Linked DNA regions of Homo sapiens: regions 2, 3 and 4 are each linked to region 1. Evidence: promoter capture Hi-C in human tissues and cell types (Jung and others, 2019). All regions are on one chromosome and are shown on one strand. Each heading gives the region's core, a stretch centred on a gene start or on the middle of the fragment in contact. The rest is flanking DNA. Distances are from core to core; before and after follow the strand shown.

Region 1 (3,213 bases), core at 245-2,744:
TCATCTTCGGCCTGCAGATGCACACTTTGGCACACCTCTCTCCCCTTCTCTCAGGCCTTTAGAAAAGCAACATTGCAGCACAGGTTACCAAGCAATCTTATAAACAGAATGTGGGTCCAAATGAGTATTTTACATTGCTTCTTCTAAAGTCAATCCTGTTTTTTTTTTTAAGTGACTCCACTTAAGTCTGCTCAAAACTGGACACTAAAGGAGCAGCACAGCAAAAGAGAGAAACAAAAGAATGTGGAAAACAAGAGGGCCTAGGAAGCACTGTAAACCTTATCCCTCCCTCACCAAGTCATTGTGATAGTGGCAGGACTTGGAAGCCAAAAGCAAAACATTTATTTGCTTTTTAGGGAATTTTAGCAAACAGCTCCCCAGTTAGTTAAGCCTTCTACATCAAACTCATAACATTTTTTAAATGTAGTTGAGGATACAACTTTACACATGCCTTTTTCCTGAAAAGATGTTTAGAGTGGCTTCTACAAAGGTCCCAGAAGTAAACATCATGAATTAGCCTAGAGAAAGAATGCTAGATGAAGTACATATTCATATATATATATGTATATATAAATTACATACAGTATTAGCAAAATACACTACCTGTTAATTTTTAACAAATATAGTATAATATTAGGAAAACATTAAGGAAGGGATGTCAAAAATTAAAACTATAGCATATAAATATCTTTAAAAAAATACTGTGCTTGCTGGTACGCTCCTTCATTCACACTCCTTCATTCCATGTTTGAAGGGTGTTAGTTGCCCTAATCAACAGCTTTAACCATAGGACTAGGTGACTCATTCGTCCCATAGTCACATCTCTGTAGTCAGAAGACAAACATGACAAAGGGCATGCACAAAAAGTTTACTCTGATATGCCTTAAAAATCTGTAGACAAGAGAGGGCCAAGATAAGTTTAGCCTGTTTACCACATGCTGGAATTCAGCTCATTTCACATCTATCTTCTATTGCTGTAAATGTATATAGTGTGCACTCCATGAAAACTGACACCAATGTTGGCAAAATACAACAAAGCTTCCTAACACATCAAATGGATTTTTAAAAATCTGAGCTCCAAGAACACATATCTTGGAGCACTGAGCTCCTGCAAGCAATCAGCTGGTTTTAATTTCTCTCCCGCAGCTGCTAAAATGCTGGTTTCAACCTGTAAAGATTTCTGGGCCCCACCAGTCAGCACGTCTCACGGTCTTCACAGCCCCAGATTCCGGGAGACAATGCATCTAAAACGAACAGCGGCTGGGAACGGTGGAGGATACCTTCACGATAGTTGCTTCCAGAGAAAGGCATGCAAGTCTAATTTTAATGGTAAGAATCACTTACTCTGTTACAGTGGTGCTGCTGAAGGAATTATCCTGAAGGCTGAAACAGAAACAAGAAAACATCAGCCAAGTCTGGCCGGGGAGCCGTCTCCCTGATTGCTCTCCGGGAGTTAGAGCACATACACAAACATGGCATTGCAAGGCAAGTCTCCGGGCTCGCCCGGCACGCTCGCTCTACCTTGGGCTGCTGTCTGCACATGCTCGTAACGACACCCCCAGCAGGGGCCCAGCGGCACGGGCGAACCACAAAGCCCGGCAGCCCGCGAGGCTGCGGGGACAGAGCTGGGCGGGGCGCGGCGGCGGGGCTGGGACCCCGGGATCCAGCGAGGAGCACCTGGAGAGTTACCACACGACCCCGACCTCGCCAGCCCAGGCGCCGCGTTTAATCTTGGGCTCTTTGTGCCAGCCACCCCCCGAGGCTGGCAATGAGAATGCCCCAGTGTTTCTGCCGAAGTGCTGAAATACCCGGGAGACTTGCTTTCTTCCACATGTCTCCTACCAATTTTACAGAGCTCACCCCAACCCCCCACACTCCCACCCCACCCCCAGGGATGGAGGCTCGCAGAGATTCATCCATCGTTCAGAAAAAGTCAGGAGAGAACAAGAAGGGGGAGGGGGATATTGCTGCTGTTTGGTGTTTTATTTTGTGTGTGTGTTTTTTGTTGCCTAGGAAAAAGAATAGGCTCTAAAGCAGGGCTGGCTGCATCACACCTGATCTGTCTAGAGCGCTCTTATTTCAGTCCCAGAGAGGAAGCGCCCAGCCCCGGACTACAGAGCTGTGAATGAACCCACGCAGGGCGAGTGGAGAATTTATTCCAGGGGTTAGCTGGTGATTAGGACACCGTGCAAGGGGTGGGGCTTGCTATGCCTAGAGCAGCCCGCTTGAGCTCAGCTCCCTAGCTAGCACCTTTACAAAGGATGGAGAGACGGAATCCGCAAACGCTATCCCTTTGAATAAAGGCAGCCTTGTTAGGGAAAGGAAAGACTGTCAGTCCCCCCACTGGCTTCTTTCCCTTGGGGATATTTGTTCTGCCCTCTTTGTATTGTTCATTTCTCCTGCCATGTTGACCTGGATATGGGATGTAGCATCTATTAAAGATTCTTATTTGAATTTGAATTATTTTATTTGAATTTTGAAATAAGATTCCCATCCCCCTTTTTAATCTTTCTACTCCCAGAAGCAGCTAGGATAGTGGTTTTTAGTCCAAACCTATGTAAGTTAATGAGTTAACATAACAACAAAAAACTCATAATTTTTCTAATTGGGCAATTAAAAACTTTACCAAAACTTGGAAATAATGGGGAAGAGCATGACCTTTCAATGTCAAACTGAGACATCGGTTAACAAGTCCACCCAGGGGCCAGTTAATTCTCCAGTTGTGTTTGGCTTTGCTCTTCACTATTGATTAGATTCCAGCCACAGTGAAGTTCTGTGGTCACTTGCACATTTTATTCAGCCTGTTCAGAGAAAAAGATAATCGCAGCGTTTATGATTTTATTGCAATATAGGAAGATAACCAATTTTGCATCTAACCAAATAATCATTTTGCATCTAACCAAACTTTCTTTCTAAATACCTGTAAATCCACAGATCCTCAAAATGCTTTTGGAACCAGCTTCATCATCTTACAGTTTTCCCCATTAATAAGTGAATAGATCTCTGCTGCCTGCCTATGTTTGTATGAGAGTTGTATTTTAACTTTTTAAATTTATACCTTGAAAAATAAAAATTGAGTTTTCAAAGAAAAACAGGTTTCATTAAGGTTCTTTGCAATTTTGCTTTCCTCTCTCCAAATATTTTTAAAATCAGCTAAATAAAAACCTAATATGGTCTTAGACTGAATTCTATGGACTAAAATAAGTTCAGGAA
Region 2 (3,213 bases), core at 303-2,802, 400 kb before region 1:
TATCAGTCATGAAATTTTTCCTCTGGAAGAAACAGGAGAGATGACTTTCCTACACATTACACATAACCACTAGCTCCCAGGACAACTCTCAGTGCATTAATTAAACTCTACCCTCTTCTCCACTCAAAAAATAAAATTGTTTCCATTCTGTATAGAAAGTGAATGATTAGCCAACTAACACACAAAGTAGTAGTAGTGAAAAAAATCTCTGGTATATCTCATGTTACTAAGGCCAGATCACAGCTTCCAAGAGGTCCAAGGAAAGATTCCAGAAAGGAGCCTAAAGGGTTCTTTGGCTATCTGAAGAATAATGAATTTCAGAGCAGTGACTATTGTCACTGGAATGCTGAGGGGAAGGGAAAGAAGCAGTAGAAATGAAGATCAATGAAGATCACAACACTTTCCCAGTGGAACTGTGATCATCAGGACAATGGAATTTCCTCTGCACATGCCCAGGAGCTTCTAGATAGACAAAATGGGAGCATGTGTATCTGCTAGATGACTTCAAAAGGCCGGCTACAGAAGGGACCAAGGAGAACCATTTTCTACATCTCGTTCCACTGAAGCAGAAAATGTTAGTGCTAGGAGACACTTATTTTAAGAAGTCTCCCTCAGTTCCCAGATAACTGAAGCAAACTCAGAACAGCTGAAGGTCACGTGGGAGCTGTGGCACAGACCTACCAGGGCAGTGAGTTGAACCCACCTCTAATTACCAGTGAGATCTAATTTCCTCTACACTGCATATTAAAGCAAGCAGGAGAAGCAAGGTGAATAAAGAAATAACTATCTACTTGAATGCCCAGGAATTTCTTAGCCTGCTGAAATGTATTCTTTTAGGAAAGTCAATTCCCTTGAGAAGAAACAGTAAAATGCTATCCTCAGATTACCCTTGGCTGAAAGATATAATGGACACTTAGCCTTTGGTGTCACCTGCTGGATACAGTCCTTTCTCCAAGATTGGTCATAGTCTCAGGTTACTTTTTTTTGGTCCATGTGCTTCATACACACACAATTCTAGACCTCATGTGCCGATCAGAATTCCCTACCCATGCCTGATCTTCCTCTTCTGGCCAAAATAAATAGATACTTCCATAGAAAATATACATCCTTTTTCCCTTTGTCCTTTAAGAACAGATTTTTTTTTTTTTTTTTTTGCCAGTAAGTCTCTAGCTATCTAATCTGCTAAACCTGTCCAAGTTACCATGCTGAGGGGAGTCTACAAGGCACACCAGAGCCAACCTTCCCTACCTAGCCATTGTACCTGCCTGTCTATCAAGCAGCATAATGGAAAGAGGAATTGGAAGATAGAACTTGAGTCTTGGCTATGTGACCTTGGGCTTTAAGCTTTAAGATCCTCATTATAAAACAGGTTTAAATCCCCACTGTTTATACCTTACAGAGTAGTGAGGTCCAGATGTGGAAGGGTATGTGAAAGTGCTTGATAAACTTAAAGCACTTTATAAATTCAATGCATTGTTAGTAATCCATAGGAGTGATGCTGTAGTGGAAATCTAAAGCCAAGGATGGAGAATTCTTAAGCATTCTTAAAAATCCATGCCCTGGTGGTTACCTGTTCAACCTGTGCATGAAATCAGCTGTGCCTCTAGGTTTTCTAAGAGAATCACCATCTTCATGGAAAAACACAATTTTTACACCATCCTTAAGGTGTCAGACATCCTCTTTCCACTACTGTTACCCAGAAGCAGAAGGTAGTTCAGGAAATAACTAACTTTTTCTCATTATTAGCCAACCATTCAGGGTTGTTCTTATAGTGTTTTTCCAGAAGATGTTTGCCTGATATCCCAAAACTTTCCTGCAGCCTCCTTAACTATCTTGCTAATTCCTTGACAGAAACTTCATCTGGTACCCCTACTTTTTATCTGCCATGTACACCATGTAACCGAAAAATGTTGTTTCCCTATTGCCTTTTGAGCCAAGAGTACCAAAATTTGGTGCCCGCAATTTCTGAATGCACTTCCTCTAAAACAAATCTTCGTAGTAAATCTCTCTTGAACCTGGCATACCCTTTTCTTTTCACACATTTACGTTATAAATTCACATCTTTGCTTTCTCACCCCTCTGACATCCTGAGAGACAGTATAATCTACACAGTGAGTTAAAGCTGCTCTGCCTTTTGCCTCCATGGGAAGTTATCCAAGAACAGGCCAGGCACTTGCCCTTTCTCACCTGTGACATTTATGGCAGGCACTCTATCAATGAAGCTTCCAGACCCAGTTTATGCTTGATCATCCTGGAATGCAAATCAGATCAAATGTTGATCATTTGGCAAATCATTTGAGCTACCAATTAGCTTGTGCAGAAGCCTTGGGAAATAGGTATTTCCAGGCAGTTGAAAAGATTTTAAAAGTAGTGCAAATTTTAGGTAAGTGGAAGTTTATGTATTTCCAGTAAATGTTAGATGGGACCTGGTTAAGTCAAAGCAGTAGCCCAGCAAGTTGCTACCTTTGACCAGTGTTCTTCTGAGATAATTTTTAATTTTTTTTTGCCCTTTCAAAAGAATGAAATGAACAGCTAAACACATTTTATAATAAGGAATCTATGGCGGAACTGGACATTCTTACATGTGACAGAGTAAGTAGAATGTAGTATTGATTTAAATTTCCCATTCCTCTTATTGAGGAAATGATAGCTAAGAGAATAGTTTTGTTTTTGTTTTTGTTTGTACTGTTTTGATGATTTTTTCCCTTCTCTTACTTTGAAAATTTTCAGATCTACAGAAAAGCTTATAAAAGCTACTATCCTTCCCCTAGATATACCAATTATTAAATGTTGCCTCACATGCTTTTTCTCTCTTTATATCTGCTTCTTTCCTCCAGAGCCATTTAAAATAAATTTCAGGCATTATAATGCTTCACCCATCAATATTTTAGGGCATATCTCCTAACTACAATATTGTTATTATATCCAAAGAATTTAACATTGATACAATTTTTAAACAGATTTTTAGATATTCACATACAGTGAAATATACCAATTATGAGTGTATGGTTCAATCAGTTTTAACCAATGAATATACTTGTATAATCCATGCCCCTATCAAGCCAAAGGGCATCTCCATCATCCCAGAAGATTCCCTCATACACCTTTCCAGTCAACTCCTCTTTACTCCCAGAAGCAACCACTGATCTGATTTCTATCACCACCAATTCATTTTGCCTCTTCTAGAACTTCATATAAATGGAGTCATACATT
Region 3 (3,213 bases), core at 509-3,008, 350 kb before region 1:
GCTCGTCAGAGCATGACAGTCATGAGTGGTACCCAGAGTGTGGGAATGACCTCTAAACACAGTTGCCAGCTCTACTGTCAAAAATATCACCTCAAAAAATTATCTTTGCATAAATTTCTACTTTTTGAACAAATTTCCCTTTTGGTATAAATGTTTCCTGCTATCTTTGTATCCTGATTGAAAGTGAAATGCTATGCCTCTGAGGAGATTCATCATTACCCTTTGGAAGATAGGCCCTAAATCACACTTCCCACTTTTCTCTTTTTGGCATATGCCTTCAACCTGGAGTGTATGTCTTGAGTCACTTTCGTTTTCAGCATCTGGAAGCTGTGTTAAGTCACCATCTTCAAGTCTCCTGACTCATAAATCACGTGTCAACTCCCTTGGCTGCTGGTCAGTTCAATTTCTGTTAAAATTTGAGCTTGAGTTAGTTATTTGAAGGACATGGAAACAGAGCAAAAAAAAGAGGCAGAATGCAGGGCTGTGACCTAACATCTGGAGACCTTGGCCTTCTGGGTTAAAACAAACACTGGAGCTACAAAAGAATCATTCTGTCACCTGACCCCAATTCCTTGACCTTGTTACAGAAAAGGTTTATGTAATTATTGCAAGACATCTACATATCCCTACATAGATGGAAAACAATAATACATCTTATACATACATATACTATTCATTTTTCACATGTAAGTAGGTGTTGTAATCAATATGACACAAATGGTTTTAATAACATTAAATTTATTTGACAGTATGTATTTTCTTATTCAATATGTAAATATAGGCAAGAGATTTTACTACTATCATGAGACATTTATGAATTCTTAGAAAGGAATTCTCACTTTTTAAAAACAATTGGGAATTGCTAATGTAAATAATGATGGTTCCTTGTGGTCAGCAAAATGGAAAGAAACATGGAAGGGGTCGGAAATATGAAGGCACTTACACACACACACACACACGCACACAAAAGCTATCAATTTCTGTCAGAAAATTGGCTGACGCATCCTTGCTTTACCTTGGAGCTATGGGAGGTAGCTCTTGATTTAGCTGCTTAATTTAGCATGGGTGTTAAAGAACCCTGTGTCAGCAAACTCACAGGAAGAACTTGTCATTTCTATTGGTATTCTGTCTAAGCTTCAAAATGGCATGACACTCAGGTGCCCTAGTGTATCATAGTCTTTGATATTTTCCTGAGGAGAAATCATAGATGATTATGAGTCAATGTGTAAAGAGATAAATAAAGGGCTATCTTCAATTGTGCAACTTCTGCTTCTAGTTAATAATTAAAATGGAGTATCCAAAAAGCCCAGTGGGTAAGTTGTTTAGTTGGTTTTCAACAGTCCCAAGTCCATCTCTCCTTCTTCTGGTAACAGGACCTCAATTTTCCTTTAGAGAATTGTCCATACCCATACTAGGCACATGGCCCAGAGCTAGTCCCCAAATTGCTGCTTGAATTATTGGGAAGGAAGTGAACTCCTCCAGATGAGGTTTTGAAACTGGTTAAAAGTAAGTTTGGCTTGTGATCACTTTCGCCATCACTGGGGAGAGCCTGCCTAAGAATAAGTCAGCACAGGGGACAGCTGCCCAGCAAATAGAGAGAGTCCAAAGAAACCATTGAACATCTGATCTAAATATTCCTGAGTCTAACTTTTGAGTTATGTGAGTCAATCAAATTTCGTTTGTTGCTTACAGGTTTGAGTTGGGGTGTTGTTACTGGCACCATTAAAAAAGCCTAACTGGCCATGCGCGGTGGCTCACACTTTTAATCCCAGCACTTTGGGAGGCGGAGGCAGGTGGATCCTGTGGTCAGGAGTTCGAGACCAGCCTAGGCAACATGGCGAAACCCGTCTCTACTAAAAATACAAAAATTAGCCAGGTGTGGTGGCATGTGCCTATGGTCTCAGTTACTTGGGAGGCCGAGGCAGGAGAATTGCTTGAGCCTGAGAGGCAGAGGTTGCAGTGAGCTGAGATTGCGCCACTGCACTCCAGCCTGGGTGACAGAGTGAGACCGTGTCTCAAAAAACAAAAACAAACAAAAACCTAATTAATACAAAGTTGTTCTTTTGTCCCTCAGCCTTCAGTGGAATTTACCAACATCTTTGCATTGTTTCTTTCCACATTCCGCCCTCTCACAGCAGAACTGCCCCAGCCTTACTTTCTTATGGACCCTCCCAGTGTGTAGCAGGACATTTTCTGGACATTTTCTCTTGCAAACCAGCTGACTTTTAGGCACAAGGCAGTCTCAGCTGCCGAGCATGTCCAAGAAAAGGTGGGGATCAGAAGAGACCCTGTGATTCTCCTGGGGAACTTGGCTCCCAGGCAGCACTGAAAAGTCATCTCAGACCAGAGTGTTCTAAAATGCAAACAAGCTTTCTTTTCAACTGGCAATAAACAGTGCTTGATGCACTGCAGTATACAGGGGTTGCCAATTTTTTGATAGAGCAGCCCAGTAGCCCAGCTGAGGATTCTGAGAAGAGGGAGGATTGTAATAGTGTTGTTTTGTGGAGATGGGGTCTTTTGATGATGACCCTGTGATTTCGCTTCAATTCCCTTTTTTCTGTGCTTTTTGTCATTCTTGTTTTCCCGGCTGTGTTCCTTTCCATTATCACTCTTTTCTTTGTCTGAAATTGGACCCATAGAAATTAGCCTGTAATCAGGGGACATGAGAATCCCTAAATTGCTCTCATTTTGATTTTCTACTTTGTTAATATTTCAGTATATGAAACACCAATGAGACATTTGAGATCACTGGCCCTTCAACTTAGTCATGCTACTATCTAACCTGCTGCATGGAAAATTTGAGTATGCATCATAGCATCTAAAATCGACATTTCTAAATCTGTTTGTGGTACATTATGTAGAAAATTACTTCAGTCTCACTAGTACTTGAGAAACCTTCATCGTACATCATTCCAACATCCCAGAAAAAGAAGCACGTGGGAAGATTTGTATATAAGGGAAATAGGGGAACAGCAATACAGTATTGCAACCCATTGATAAAGATGAAACTGACTTCCTTAGCTTAATTGGACTTGACTCATCCTTGATTTTTGTGTTTCTTTGTGCTGCTTAATATATAACCAAATATATATAACTGAATGAGGTAGCTGTTCCTCAGTGAACTTTGCATAAGAGTTAAAAAAAAAGCCTGAAATTAAAGTCTTTATAACAAAATGAAATCCCCCCCGAAGTATAGGCAGAAACTTTCAGTAA
Region 4 (3,213 bases), core at 263-2,762, 260 kb after region 1:
TCAAGATATTGATTTTATTCATCACTCTGAGTACAAGCACCTCTTGGCAAAAATCTGATGACATATTTTAAGTAGGAAATTGCAAGATAAAGTAGTCAATTGTTAACGGTGGTAAGTTAGTCAACTGTTGGTGGGAGTGTAAATTAGTTCAACCACTGTGGAAAGCAGTATGGTGATTCCTCAAAGAGCTAAAAGCAGAACTGCCACTCGACCCAGCAATCCCATTACCGGGTATATACCCAGAGGAATATAAAGCATTCTGCCATAAAGACACATGCACGCGAATGTTCGCCGCAGCACTATTCACAATAACAAAGACATGGAATCAACCTAAATGTTCATCAGTGACAGACAAGAAAACGTGGTTCATATACACTGTGGAATATTATGCAGCCATGAAAAATGAGATCATGTCTTTTGTGGGAACAGGATAGAGCTGGAGGCTATCATCCTTAGCAAGCAGGAATAGAAAACCAAATACCGTGTGTTCTCACATATGGGTGGGAGGTAAATAAGAAGAACTCATGAACACAAAGAAGGAAACAACAGACACTGGGGTGTTATTGAGTGGGGAGGGAGGGAGAGGAGCAGAAAAGGGAACTATTGGGTACTGAGCTTAGTACCAGGGTGATGTATTAATATGTACAACAAACCACCGTGACACACGTGTTTATCTACGTAACAAACTTTCGCAGGTACCCCATACCTAAAATAAAAATTAAAAAAAAAAAAAGAATCTGCCAGTGACCACAAGCAAATCAAACAGCCTCTCCATACCAGTAAGCAAATTGCAAACTCACACACCTTTGGCGCAGGAACAAATGATAAGGGAATTAAGGAGTACAGGTGTAGAATAACAGGGAAGTGCATAAAGTTACTCACAGTAAAAATTACTGGGACACGGATCTTGGCAAAACCTCTGTACAATCTGTCCGTTTTCTAACACTATATTCAACCAATGCTGGCCAAAGCAACATGTCTGTTGATAAAATTCAGCTGCAGATGGGGTTGTGGATCCAATGAAGTGAGCACGGTTTCCAGGAGGTATTATCAATGGCCAGGAGCTAATTCCTAACTTGGAGCAGCTGAAAACAATCACTCCCCATTTTACAGTAACAGCACACAGAGATGCCAAGTTCTCTGGCTGAGCCGAGTCATCTGTGGAAAGTAGACACAATTCAATCTAAATAATAGAGAACAGCGGCAGCCTGGATTGATGTTTCTGCATGACTCTCTGCTTAGTTCAAATTGGAGCCATTACCTCGTTGGATTTCTCAGCAGGCGGTTTAGCCTATAGGAGACATTCCCTATCCAGTAACAAATCTCATTTCTTCTCAGGCTGAAGGAGATAACAAAAGCCAGATGGCCCTTCAAGACTGTTCATGATGCTCAATGAGCCCAAGATGGATGCGGCCCATTTCTAGACTTTTTTCAGCTGAACCACAAGGTGGTGCCAAAGTACAGAAAATGCTGCTTCAGCCTGCAGGTGTCACCAACTGTGAGGAAGGCAAAAGGAAAGAAAAGACCATTATCTCACTTCGCTGAATAAAAAAGAAAATGCAAGTCTAGGAGGGCCTAACAAGGCCTCAGCACACAGCAAATCCCCACTTATCCTTAGTAAATTCGGGTGCCTGAGTTTCAGGAGGCTGCAGGTAAATTGAGTCTAAAAATTCAAAGGAGCTTAAAAGAGCAATTAAGCCTTTGGTTTGGTAATGAAGGCAGCACTAAGCCATAGGCCAGATAATTAGTGTAATGGAGCTCAGTGCTGAAAGAGCTACTGTGTCTCATTGTAAATTCTGCACCTGTTAAGGGCTGCGTGGGTTTACAGGTGGGCTAATCAAAGAAGAAAACCACAGACAGATCCTGCAGAAAATTCCAGGCAACTGGAAGGTCACCTCCCCCAAAATCCAGGGAGCACAGAGGGCTGCTTTTCTCACAATCCTTCCTACTAGACCTGTGTTGTGCAATACGGTAACCACAGGTGGCAGGCTCTAAACTGAAAATACACACTGGATTTCAGCAACAACAAAAAGAGTGAAATCGCTCATTAATCAGTTGGATATTAGTTACATGTTGAGATAACATTTTGGACCTACTGAGTAAGACAAATGCCAAATTTAATTTCCCTTGTTTCTTTTTACTTTTATTCTTTGTCTCCTAAGTATGTTTCATTACATAGATATTGCTCTCATTATATTTCCATGGGATATTGCTTCTCAAAGAGCATATCATTGGTAAAATATGGAAATACTTCCACACCAATGGGATGCTTACACTGCCCTGGGCCTCAGCCCCTTACTATGTCCCACTGCCTCGGCTGCTCAATCCCTCAGAGCCGTGCAGCGCCTGCCACCCAGCCAGCTTGACGGAGGCCCCTCATTCCCTCACATCCATCCCACCACTCCCAGGATGGGCCTGGACCCAAAAGAGAATGCCCTATTCCCATCTGGCATGTCTTAGTCACACTGCCCTGGCTGTGGGTAAGAAACAGCCTTTGCAGTGACTCTAACAATTGTTAAATATTTGGTATTTGTTGTTGTTGCTTTTTTTGAGACAGGGTCTAACTCACTCTGTCACCCAGGCTGGAGCGAGTGCAGTGGTGCTATTTCCACCCCCCAGGCTCAAGCAATCCTCCCACCTCAGCCTCCTGAGTATCTGGGACTACAGGCATGAGCCACCACGCCCAGCTAATTTTTGTAATTTTTGTAGAGACGAGGTTTCACCATGTTGCCCAGGCTGATCTCAAACTCCTGGGCTCTAGCAATCCTCCCACGTCAGCCTCCCTGTGCTGTGGGATTACAGGCATGAGCCACCGCACCTGGCCAGTTGTCAACTATTTCAAATATCACTCACACCTATGAAGTTTGCACTTATCTCTGCCATGACATTTCTCAACTTGTATCCTAATTGTATATTGGTCTCCTCAGGAAGCATATGAGCTCATGGGTGGCAGGACAAACCTTGACCAGCCTTATTCCCCCTGCTTCCAGTCCTGTTAAGCACTTATACATGTGTGTACTGTGCATATGTACTTTGTGTATTTGTTGGTTGAAGATGAGTAATAGAAAGACACCAATGCAGGGTCAAGAGGCCACACAGCATCCTTTGATCCTGGGGCTCTACAGACCATGTTGCCTCTCACATTCAACAAGGAGACTGACTTCTCCAAAAAGATACTGAGATCAATTTTTCCCTTGGGGTTAGGCTATTTGG

Evidence for each region. Contacts are between HindIII fragments. The study calls those that stand out against the background at their distance.
Region 2: a fragment that was not itself captured here is called in contact with the fragment with the promoter of FAM13C in region 1 in 2 of the 25 tissues and cell types used here (dorsolateral prefrontal cortex and hippocampus).
Region 3: a fragment that was not itself captured here is called in contact with the fragment with the promoter of FAM13C in region 1 in 2 of the 25 tissues and cell types used here (dorsolateral prefrontal cortex and hippocampus).
Region 4: a contact is called between a fragment that was not itself captured here and the fragment with the promoter of FAM13C in region 1, in 3 of the 25 tissues and cell types used here (aorta, dorsolateral prefrontal cortex and mesenchymal stem cells).

Annotation. Positions count from the first base shown.
Region 1 is chr10:59,361,055-59,364,267 of GRCh38, forward strand. FAM13C (family with sequence similarity 13 member C) reads right to left here and starts at 1,495. Exons shown (of 14, transcript NM_198215.4): 1 at 1,345-1,495. The coding sequence starts at 1,406. LOC124902428 (a long non-coding RNA gene) reads left to right here and starts at 845. Exons shown (of 2, transcript XR_007062148.1): 1 at 845-1,329; 2 at 2,014-2,460. The HindIII fragment of the contact is 7,624 bases long and covers 318-3,213 here.
Region 2 is chr10:58,956,745-58,959,957 of GRCh38, forward strand. No RefSeq gene overlaps it. Among named protein-coding and RNA genes, the nearest start is that of LINC00844, 41 kb to the right of the region's middle. The HindIII fragment of the contact is 3,591 bases long and covers 1-3,213 here.
Region 3 is chr10:59,006,313-59,009,525 of GRCh38, forward strand. No RefSeq gene overlaps it. Among named protein-coding and RNA genes, the nearest start is that of LINC00844, 8.4 kb to the left of the region's middle. The HindIII fragment of the contact is 3,534 bases long and covers 1-3,213 here.
Region 4 is chr10:59,624,750-59,627,962 of GRCh38, forward strand. No RefSeq gene overlaps it. Among named protein-coding and RNA genes, the nearest start is that of SLC16A9, 83 kb to the right of the region's middle. RefSeq lists an enhancer at 1,529-1,748. The HindIII fragment of the contact is 9,708 bases long and covers 1-3,213 here.